Linked DNA regions of Homo sapiens: all the other regions are linked to region 3. Evidence: promoter capture Hi-C in human tissues and cell types (Jung and others, 2019). All regions are on one chromosome and are shown on one strand. Each heading gives the region's core, a stretch centred on a gene start or on the middle of the fragment in contact. The rest is flanking DNA. Distances are from core to core; before and after follow the strand shown. Region 1 holds the start of LOC124900701 (a long non-coding RNA gene). Region 2 overlaps LOC100506444 (a long non-coding RNA gene). Region 3 holds the start of SCFD2 (sec1 family domain containing 2). Region 4 has its middle 70 kb from the start of LNX1-AS2.

Evidence for each region. The method cuts DNA at HindIII sites, captures the fragments that hold promoters and counts their contacts. A contact is called where the count stands out against the background at its distance.
Region 1: a contact is called between a fragment that was not itself captured here and the fragment with the promoter of SCFD2 in region 3, in 1 of the 25 tissues and cell types used here (IMR-90 fibroblasts).
Region 2: a contact is called between a fragment that was not itself captured here and the fragment with the promoter of SCFD2 in region 3, in 1 of the 25 tissues and cell types used here (pancreas).
Region 4: a contact is called between a fragment that was not itself captured here and the fragment with the promoter of SCFD2 in region 3, in 1 of the 25 tissues and cell types used here (mesenchymal stem cells).

What each region holds. Positions count from the first base shown.
Region 1 is chr4:53,038,043-53,040,742 of GRCh38, reverse strand. All of the region lies in intron 5 of SCFD2 (sec1 family domain containing 2), which reads left to right. It overlaps LOC124900701 (a long non-coding RNA gene), which reads right to left and starts at 2,128. Exons shown (of 3, transcript XR_007058116.1): 1 at 631-2,128. The HindIII fragment of the contact is 4,103 bases long and covers 1-2,700 here.
Region 2 is chr4:53,707,241-53,709,940 of GRCh38, reverse strand. All of the region lies in intron 1 of LOC100506444 (a long non-coding RNA gene), which reads right to left. Among named protein-coding and RNA genes, the nearest start is that of LNX1-AS2, 120 kb to the right of the region's middle. The HindIII fragment of the contact is 4,669 bases long and covers 1-2,700 here.
Region 3 is chr4:53,364,642-53,367,341 of GRCh38, reverse strand. It overlaps SCFD2 (sec1 family domain containing 2), which reads left to right and starts at 1,281. Exons shown (of 9, transcript NM_152540.4): 1 at 1,281-2,238. The coding sequence starts at 1,401. RefSeq lists enhancers at 1,316-1,365, 1,386-1,585, 1,806-1,855. The HindIII fragment of the contact is 11,346 bases long and covers 1-2,700 here.
Region 4 is chr4:53,661,402-53,664,101 of GRCh38, reverse strand. No RefSeq gene overlaps it. Among named protein-coding and RNA genes, the nearest start is that of LNX1-AS2, 70 kb to the right of the region's middle. The HindIII fragment of the contact is 3,037 bases long and covers 1-2,700 here.

The DNA.
Region 1 (2,700 bases), core at 125-2,624, 330 kb after region 3:
TGAACCCACTACTAAAAGGCAATGAGTAAGAAGCATGCATTGGAAGAACTTAATGTGGTTGGAGTTTGCAGAAAAGATAGGAAACCCAAAGAACAGAGATATTTATAGTTGCATAATTCAGGGCATTCCTCGGAAATTTTTAGACAAATAGAGCAAAGCAAAGTATCTACATTAAACATGGCTAGGTACTTTCCATTTTACAGACTAGCAAGCTTCCATGAGAAGCATATGGAATCTCACATTGTTTCATTTTTATTGCATTGTAGGACATTAAATTTTGATTCAAATGAACCCCATCTTATGAAATTGAGGTATGGTTGGAGAAAAAAAATCAAATTCCAATGTGGATTATTTATAAATAAAGATCCTTCTTCAGATGACTCATGTAAGTTCATTCATTCATAAATACTTTGTTAATTTTAGAAAATTGACATTTGAGTCAAGCTCACCTCCCTCTCTCATATTGAGTTACATGCTGCGGTAGTTACATGGTCTCAGATAAAGATATATTGCTTCATTTGATAACATTAACTCAGCAAAGAGCAACAGCACTCTAAACAAAAACAGGAGGTCTGAGGGAGAATTCAACTCAAAAAGAAGTTTATAAGTAGGATTTCAGAACATACTCACCCACTGCATTTGTGCTATGCCATAGTACTATGCTCAATGCTGATGGAGGTGATTTGTTAATAGCATGAAGCCACTGCCCTCTAACAGCCGTGTTGGGAAGATAAGCACAAATGGATCATGTAATTACCAGTTCAAGACAGAAGGAGTGTAAGTGTCAAATAAGTGATTCCAAAGATAAAACTGGACAAGGTTCAGAGCAGAAGAGATGAATGAAGTCAGCATAGAGGCAGGGGCAGAGCAATGGCTCTAGCAACCGTCTTAGGAGAGAATCCTGTTTTCACCACTTCATAACAACAACATGGTCTTACGTCACAATGTCACTGAGCTCCAACTTCCTTATTTGTAAAATGGAATCAGAATGTGGTCTTTACAAGTTATTATGATGATGAAAAAAGATAATGTATGAAAAGTGCATGATATACAGGAGGCACCCTTACCTGGTAGCTATACTAAGGCTACTGTGATCTATCGGGGCAGGAGTGGAGCAGCCAATCCTCTTGCAAAAGATATGCCTAAACTCAGGCCCAGTGAGAAATTTGGTTAGGGCCTGGCACTTAAAGGCAGGAATTGGTGAGAAGATTGGCCCAATAGAAATTTGTCTTTAAAGTGTGTTAGAGAATTTTAAAGTATATTGTAGTCAGATTACAGAGGGCCTTGAATACCAGGAAGAGAAGTTCAGGCTACATTCTATGGGCAGCTGGGAGTCACTGGAAGATTTTGAGCAAGAAAGTCACCTAATGAAATTGGTATTTTAAGGCTTATTCTGATAGACCTGATAATTGGACATGCAAACTGGATTGGAAATAAGAGAGTAGAGAACAAAGGATGAGAAAGAAAAAAATGAACATTTATTGAACACATATGGTATGTATATGTTTTAGACCGTGGCCTGAGAGCCAAACTCTGATCCCAAATGGGGTTCCCATAAAGGAAGACTGAATCTCTTTTTCTCTTTGATGAAATGGAAAGTGAAAGCCCAGAAGAGCTTTTCAGAATTCTGAAGGCACTAGACTAGAGTAGCCAAACTGCTACCTGGAAAGGGAATATATAGTGCTGGTAGATGGAAAGCTCAGAATTCAAATCCTGTTTAAGGAAATATTTTTGTCGGTATTAAAATACTTTAGGCTAGGCATGGTGACTCACGCCTATAATTCTAACACTTCGAGAGACTGAGGCAGGAGGATCACTTGAGCCAAAAGTTCAAGACTAGCCTGGGCAGCAAAGTGAGATCCACCATCTCTGAAAGAAAAAAAATAATTAGCTGGGCATTGTGGTACATGACTATAGTCCCAGCTACTCAGGAGGCGAAGGTGGGAGGATTGCTTGAGCCCAGGAGATTGAGGCTGCAGTGAGATGTGATCACACCACTGTATTCCACTATGAATGCAGAGCAACACCCTGTCTAAAAAAAAAAAAAACAAAAAACTTTAAATGTCTTCTTTTTTCTGTTAACAACCTGGCATTTTATTTTCCATGTTCTTTCTCCCTATCGTTTTATACTTAGAGTAAAATTCATAATGGACAAGGCTCAGAGGCTTCAGATGTCAGGCATGATTTGTTCATGAAACTCTCCATGCAAGTCTGTTTTAATTAAAAGCAAACTGTTTTACAATGAAAACTGTTTAAAACAAACTCTTCTGTGAACATTTGAACATCTGTAAGGAAATATAAAGGAGCCCAATTATCAATCTGAAGAGTTGTATCCAAGACAATCCAGTTGTCTTTACAATTGAGGGTGGGCCAAAGAAAGGTGATTTCATTTTGGCAGATTTCCTGCTTCATGGAACCCTCCTCAGACTCATGAAAGGATTTGCCAACTCCAGGAGGCTGGAGTTCTATTGGATTCCAGTAAATGCCAGTAAAGAGCTCAGTAAATCAGAAAACATGACTTCTTCTAGACTTGTATTCGTTTTTCTTTTCAGAATTATCTTTCTAACATGCTGTTCTTATTAAGGAAAATTCTGGGAGCATGTGGTATTCCAAGAGTCACTTTGTGTTACCAATTATTATTCAAAAAGTATTACACTTACAGCCTAACATTGGCCAACCCTCTTAGAAGGATCCAGAGCA
Region 2 (2,700 bases), core at 61-2,560, 340 kb before region 3:
AATAAGCTGTTCTTCTTTATGCCATTTAAAATTGTCTCATGCACCCCTAGTGGTACATAGATTTAAGGAGCTAGTGAACCTGGTAGGCTGGATTTTGTGGGTGACAAGGGATTCGATACATGAATGGTTTGTTTCCACCCAATCTCAGGAAAATCTTCTCTCCTTAGGTTTCTGTCAGAATCATTCATTTGTTCAAGGATCACTGGGCTAGAGGAAACCAATTTCTCTTCCATATCCACTCAGTGTAAGCTATGTTTATCTTTCACTTGCTAATAAAACAATAGCTTGTGTTTAATGTGGATTGATTCAAATAAGAGAATTCAGCAACTTTCCAAGTCCACCAACTTCTTCCTGTGTGGTTAAGCATTCCCACAGTTGATGAAAATGGAGAAAGGAAATTACAAAGGATTTGAATATTATCCTGAAAGTTATTTGTTTGCTTTTAAAATCTTAATAAAAGATTTCTCCAATTTATTTTTCATAACTTCATGGAAAGCAAGAATAATTTCTGTGAAAGAGGTGATTAGCAAGGCAAAAACACCATTTTATCTCAAAATACACTGCTAATCAATTTTAAGTGTTATCTCCATTTGTAATTTAGGATGTCCAGGGTTAATAACATTGCAAAGATTCTCTGATGGTGCAATAATCACGGGATGTAAATTGATTTCTTTCGGTGGGGTGTTTGTTAAAAGCATATGAGCTTTCTAATTGGCCTTCAGCCACTCTGCCACATTGTGATCTAACTATATTGCCCTATAATTTGTAAGCACTCACTGAGTTATTTATAGATAACATGAAATATTTGTTAGTTCACAGTGGATATGATTTAAACCAAACCAAAGACAGTATATAAATGTTAAAATCTTGAACCTATGTTAAAATGTTCAAGAGCCTATGTTCTATTTTCTTTCCTCTGTTGTGTCCTCTGATGAATATTACTACCCATGTCTGGGTTTCCTTTGTAATTCTCTTCCAATTAATTACTCCAGAGAGAGAAGAAAGAGTTGCTACAAATATAACATAATTAAAACTCACTAGTTTTAAGAGCGCGGACTGCAGATGAAGGGAAAATCTGTGGTCCCTATGCTTTATTATCTTGCAGAATCCTTCAGGACAATTCTGCTGTCCTTGGCTTTTAGAGCACCTGGTTTCCCTTTTTGTTTTATCCCATGATGGTGGCAGTAGGTTTGGTCTTCACAGAATGCACATCTAATCCACATGTTACTTGCTTTGTTCTCTAGACCTCAACATTCCCACCTGTAAGCTGCAGCACACCAGTATGTTGCAAACAGGTTACCAGCCATTAACCCTGGACATCTTAAATGGCAAATGCCATAAGATCCTCAGCCTTCACAGTGGCCAGGTGGCCACCTGGAGTGCATGGGGCCTCCTAATTCATGTATCACCTCTGGCCTTGAATAACTTCATCCAGAGAGTCTAATATACAGCACAAGAATGATCCTTTCCTATGTGTGCCATGACATGAAAGAGGTTGGGGAACACCACCCAAGACCAAGGTCCGTCATGACTTTGGGAACCTCGAAGGGTTCTTTAATGAATGTTTACTTGACTTTCTAGTACCTGCTGACTAGTTCCCCAGAACACCCGGCCCATCTTTAGAACTCAGCTGGCCAAGCTTACTTCATCCCTGCAAAGATTGACTAGATGTTTACCTAACCCACTTTCCCTTCCTGGGCTTAGATGCAAATTACATTGCCCAGACCCCTTTCCTCTAGATGCATGCATAAGACCAGCTCCTGCTGATGCAGTGTAAGTGGAAGTAATGTGTCACTTCTGGGTGAAGGCCATTGAGAGTCTTTTGCCTTGTCCATACTTTCCTTCTGACTTCTCCTTTCAAAATATCCATGGACACAACATGTGTTGAAGATGGCAGGTAGGTCTGGGAATGACTGCATTTTCTACAGCCATAGACTGGCCGATTGAAATGGACTTTCATGGGAGTGAAAAATAGATTTTGTTTGTATTATGCTCTAAGACTTCAGAATTTATCAGTTATAACAACTAACATAATTTACCTTAATCAGTACAATTCTTTGTCCCCATAGACATACACAGTGTTATGGGCTGAATCTGTTTCCCCCAAAATTCATGTGTTGAAGTTCCAACCCACCCCACCCCTCCCCAGCCGGCATATTCCAGAATGTAACCATACTTGGAGAAAAGGTCTAAGGAAGTGATTACGCTGAGGTCATTAGGGTGGGGCATTAATCCAATATGACTGTGTCCTTATAAGAAGAGAAAGATGCCAGGGCTGGTGTGCACAGAGGGATGACCTCAAAGAGGCAGCAAGAGGTCAGCCATCTACAAGCCAACTGAGAGGCCTCAGAAGAAACCAACAGGCACTTTGGTCTTGGACTTCCAGCCTTCAGAACTGTGAGAAAGTAAATATCTGTTGTTTCAGCCTCCCAATCTGTGGTATTTTGTGACGACAGGCCCCAGCAAACAAATGCACATAGTAAAGTCACCTCACGTACCATCTCATTTCTCTCTTATTTCCCAACAGGTCTGCATGAATTTTTAACCTGTAGGCATCTGCTGAGTCCTTAAGGATGCTAGTTTGCTAGCTCTCTTATCTCTGCCATAGATATCTTTCATGATCCAAGATTAATTGTGGAAACTCCTGTTCTCAGGCAAACTCAAACACACACCAAAGCATGCACACACACACACACACGC
Region 3 (2,700 bases), core at 32-2,531:
CTCGGCCTCCCAAAGTGTTGGGATTACAGGCATGAGCCACCGCGCCTGGCCATGGATATTAATTGAACATTCATTCAACGAACATTTATTGAACACCTGTTATAAGTGTTGGGGATACCAAGCATCTAGTGCATAATTTAGCAAAACAGATAGTTTAAAGAAAATAGTGTTAATACTTACCCCATGATATGGCAAGTACTTAGCGAATGTATCAATTGAGTGGTTTGATAGGTGGGGGAAGTGAGAGGTGATAGGGTGATAGTGGTGGTGAGTTAGAAAAAGTCTCTCACAGGCAGTACTGTTGGAATGATTATTTTCGGTAAGTTTACCAGGTAAATTCTTTGTGGATTAGGTAATGAATTTTATTAACCATTGCATCTTTGAAGCTTAGCACAGAGATTATACTTAGTAATGTAAGTATATTGGTGGAACAAACAGAACCCATAAAACATTTTGGGTTCAGCCTATTGACTTCATTGTATCGGTACAATTTTTCTCCATGTTGGGAATAGCTGGAGAGAAATTGAGAAATCAAGAAGGATGTTGATGCTTTTTAAAGAGTGTGGATGTATCCTATAGGCAACTGGGCTAGGAGAAGCTTTTAAGCAGGAAAGTTGTAGGACCAACTTTGTTTATTAGGAAGAAAATAGAATTGGAGGGTAAAGAGATCAAAAGTCAGAAAATGTTGGGAGATCATTGCCTGGGTGAGCGATGATGTTGGGTTTTTGTGACAGCAAAAATGGAGAGGAAGGGCTGAATTCTGAGAGTTTTTAAGCCTATAAGATGTAGTGACGATGAGATGAGGGAGGAAAGATGGAGAAAGTGAAAATGAGAACAACAGGGTTTGTTATGAGGCTTGTGGGCGATAACGTATGTGACAGCAATCTATAAACCCAAAATATTGCACACGGTTGTTTTTATTATCTTTTTCTAGTTGCTCTGAGTTTAGATTGAGAAGGTGGCTGTACTTTTGGAGACGTGTTCATATCTAAGGAAGATACCAAATTTCGGATTAGGTTTTTATTTCGGAGACTTTTCAAGGAACATGAGAAGATTATCTGAGAAGATTATCTGCGCAGACAGGCCGAGCGACGGAAAGAACTCAGTTCAGCTCCATCTCAGGAAACACCTGATCTCCACGAGCTTTTGAGGAAGCCCGGAGCCACAGAGCCCCACCCACTTCTTTCCCGACCGCGCCATCCTTCCTCACTCCCGGCCTCCTCTCTAGCCAATCACCGCTCAGTTTAACGTCATCACCGAGCGCCATCAGGGAGCGTGTCAGAGGCCGACCACGTGTACTGTGGAGACTGTCAAAGTCTCCCGGAGCCCAATTTCCGGAAGCGGTGAGTTCTGAAAGAAGTTCCTGCACCGTAGTTTCCCAAGTCTGCGAATCCCCAACCATGAGCGCCTCGGGCGTACTGTCCTTTACCCAGCAAGGATGGGAGCAGGTGCTGGCCAAAGTGAAACGGGCTGTGGTTTACCTGGACGCCGCCTGCGCCGAGAGCCTGCACTGGGGCTGCGGATCCACCCGTCTCCTGGAGGCGGTGGGGGGTCCTGACTGTCACCTGCGAGAGTTCGAGCCCGACGCAATTGGTGGTGGAGCCAAGCAGCCCAAGGCAGTGTTTGTGCTGAGCTGCCTGCTGAAAGGCCGGACCGTGGAGATCCTACGGGACATCATCTGCCGCAGTCACTTCCAGTATTGTGTGGTGGTCACAACCGTGAGCCACGCTGTCCACCTCACAGCTAATCATGTCCCAGCGGCGGCAGCGGCCGAGATGGAGGGGCAGCAGCCGGTGTTCGAGCAGCTGGAGGAGAAGCTGTGTGAATGGATGGGCAACATGAACTACACGGCCGAGGTGTTCCATGTCCCGTTATTGCTTGCCCCTGTTGCTCCCCACTTTGCCTTGACTCCAGCTTTTGCATCCCTTTTCCCACTGCTACCCCAGGATGTGCACCTCCTTAATAGCGCCCGACCGGACAAGAGGAAGCTGGGAAGCCTGGGTGATGTGGACTCCACTACGCTAACCCCAGAGCTGCTGCTGCAGATCAGATGCCTAGTGTCAGGCCTCAGTTCTCTGTGTGAACATTTAGGAGTACGGGAGGAGTGTTTTGCTGTAGGTTCCTTAAGTCAGGTCATCGCTGCGGATCTGGCCAATTATGCCCCTGCAAAGAACAGGAAGAAGACTGCTGCAGGCAGGGCATCAGTGGTTTTTGTGGACAGAACCCTGGATCTCACAGGTAAGTGCATTGCTCTGGAGTTCTTCATTACCATTCCCCACATTGCTGGGACTTTCATTGATTCAGCATATATTTTATTGACCTTTTATTATATATTAGATTGAGGATACAAAGATGAACTAGATGGACACGGTCTCTAATCTCACAGAGTTTATTGTCTAAAGTGGAATACAGACAGGTGAATTAGCAATTACAATAACATTTGTTAAATGCTGTAATGGGTAGAAATGTCATAAATGCCCATTGCCTTGTTAAACAACAACTTTAGCCCAAGATTATGCTGACAGGGAGGAAAACTGTGCACCTGGGAAATTTTATTTTTAGAAATTTACGAATGCCAGTATTCACAACAGTCCTTCATAAGAAGACTCTGGTTTGTTGGAGAAGTGTTAATAGATGACCCAGCGGAAGGAAAACTACTGCACAAGAAAACATAAAATTATTACAGACAATTGAGGTTTA
Region 4 (2,700 bases), core at 14-2,513, 300 kb before region 3:
TCAGGAACATGAATGAAGCTGGAAACCATTGTTCTTAGCAAACTAACACAGGAACAGAAAACCAAACACCGCATGTTCTCATTCATAAATGAGAGTTAAACAATGAGAACACATAGACACAGGGAGGGGAACATCACACACTGGGGACTGTCAGGAGGTGGGGAGCTAGGGGAGGGATAGCATAAGGAGAAATAACCTAATGTAGATGATGGGTTGATGGGCACAGCAAACCACTATGGCATGTGTATACCTATGTAACAAACCTGCACATTCTTCACATGTATCCCAGAACTTAAAGTATGATAATAAAAACATAATGGCAAAAACCACAATTATTTTGCACCAACCTAATAGAATAATGTTTTACCAAATAGATCTTTCTCTGAAGGTATTTTTAAATGAGATTAACATTTAATCAGTAGACTTTGAGTAAAGCAGATTACTCTTCTGTAATGTGGATGGGCTTCATCCAATCTGGTGAAGGCATTAATAGACAAAGACTGACTTCCACAGAAGAATAGGGAATTCTGCCAGCAGATGGCCTTTGTACTTGAACTCCAACATCAGCTCTTCCCTGGGTCTCCAGCCTACCAGCCTCCATAATTGCATGAGCCAATTCCTTCAAATCCATCTCTCTCTCTTTGTCTAAATATATACAGAACTCCCCCACCCTCAACTATCACCTCAGCAGGTGCGGACAGCTTGCCTGACAGTGTGGAATCAGTTCACACTAATTTATTCTCAGTCAGGTTGCCATTTAGGGCAGTGTAATCTGAAGCAAAAATTTTGATTTCTACCAAAACTGCTTTCAAGATTTTATTCCCTTTCATTATATTCTATCCAAACAGAATATGGATCCTGTTTTCCAATAGAAATATGCAGAAGTGAGGACCATTCTGAATTTTTAAACTTCCAAAATATAAATGACCATCTCTTGATGAATAGTTACATAAAATTTTGAAAACTATTTATGGTAAAAGTACAGAGCAAAGTATACACATCCTGGTCCATGGCAGGGGGGTACTTCCAATTCATATTTCTGATTTCCCCTTATTTCAACAATTACTACTAGGCCTTTGCACAGCAAAGTAAATTAGCACTTTTTAAAACTAGGTTTCCTCCAGCTTAAAAAAAGTGAATTAGTTTTTTTTTCATTTGTACTTTTAGTAAGATTCATTTAAAAATGACTCAATTTGTCATTAATAATGTTTTATGTGTTTGTAGCTCAAAGAACAGAATGAAGCAGGAGTCTGATTGTTGTATATGAAATGTGTGCTCTGTATTCTTATAGGGTTTCCCAGCTCCATTTAAAATACAGTTTCAAAATACTGAGATTACAATTAATTAAGTATTCTTGGAGGCATAAAGTAATAATGTTTCAGTTGCTTTCAGCTACAAGTAACAGAACAGATCCACTAAAAGTGGTTTTAAACAAAAACGAAACTTAATAATCTTACAATAGAAGAAGTTGAGAGATAGGCAGGCAAGGCTGAGATTGGATTAGCAGATCAATAGCATCATGAAGAATAGAGCCTCTTCCCATCTCTCCACTCTGCAATCTGCAAGCTTGGCAGCATAGGGGCTGCCACATTCTAAGCGACACATTTACACTCCCACAATATTTGGAAGAGAGAAAGAGGTTTCTTTGCAGGCATCTTCTTCTATTAGGAAAAAAAGTCTTCCCTGAAGTCCCCCAGCTGACTTCCCTAAGTTCCCATTGGCCAATATTGGGTTGCATGTGTGCATGTTCTAGCTGCAAGCAAGGCTGGGAAGTGAATGCATCCCAAGCCTCTTCCAGAAAGGAAGAATGGTGGAAGCAAGCAGCCAACTGGTCAACCACACAGAAGTTGATACGATCAGAGCTTCTCGGAACAAAGAGATTAACATTCTGCTCCTCTACTTATTACCACCCTAAACTTCAGAAAATTACCTAGCTACTCCACTATGCCTTAGTTTCTTCATCTGCTGTGTGAATTAAATGCATGTAGGAATATATGTAGATTCGTTTCGATCATATCTGCCACATGGTGTTAGGCATCATTATTTGAACCTCTAGAGTCGCACAGGGCCTCCAGGGGGCCTGGGGTCCATGCAAATGCTCTGGCTAAAATAAGTGACTGACAAGTTAGATTTAAGGCCTTAATGTTGAATTTGTATAAGACTCTAACCACTACTGTTATCTTTAATACTTCAGATTTACTACTGATTATTGTAATACTTTTTTAAAAAAGGCTTTTAGTTAGCAGTCTTGTCTATTAAATTTATTTCTGAAAAAGCTCTTGGAGATAGAAAAAGTGTCAGGATTCTATGAGAAAAGCCAACCTCCTCCACATTTCCATTTACTCCTCTGTCATGTACCTACCTTTTGTATTTCTACCCTGAGTTCCTTGGTCTGTTCTCACTACATCTTCAGAGGAATCAGTGGTCCCACACAGTCCTATACTGCTCCCAGCTCTGTTTCACCACCTCCTGGCTTTGAACAAAGGCCTGGCTTTGAATTTTCAGGAAGAGGGCATCAACGAGCTTTTAGGATTTTCCTTTAAAATTTGATACATTGTTAGTGTGATGGAAATTGGCACAGCTATTTTTGACACTTCAAATATTTGATGACATCTCTAATCCCTTTTCCCTAGCAACTTCACTTCTACAAATGTAACCAACAAGTAACAGAACAGGTAATGTTCCTAAAGCATTCCTTGC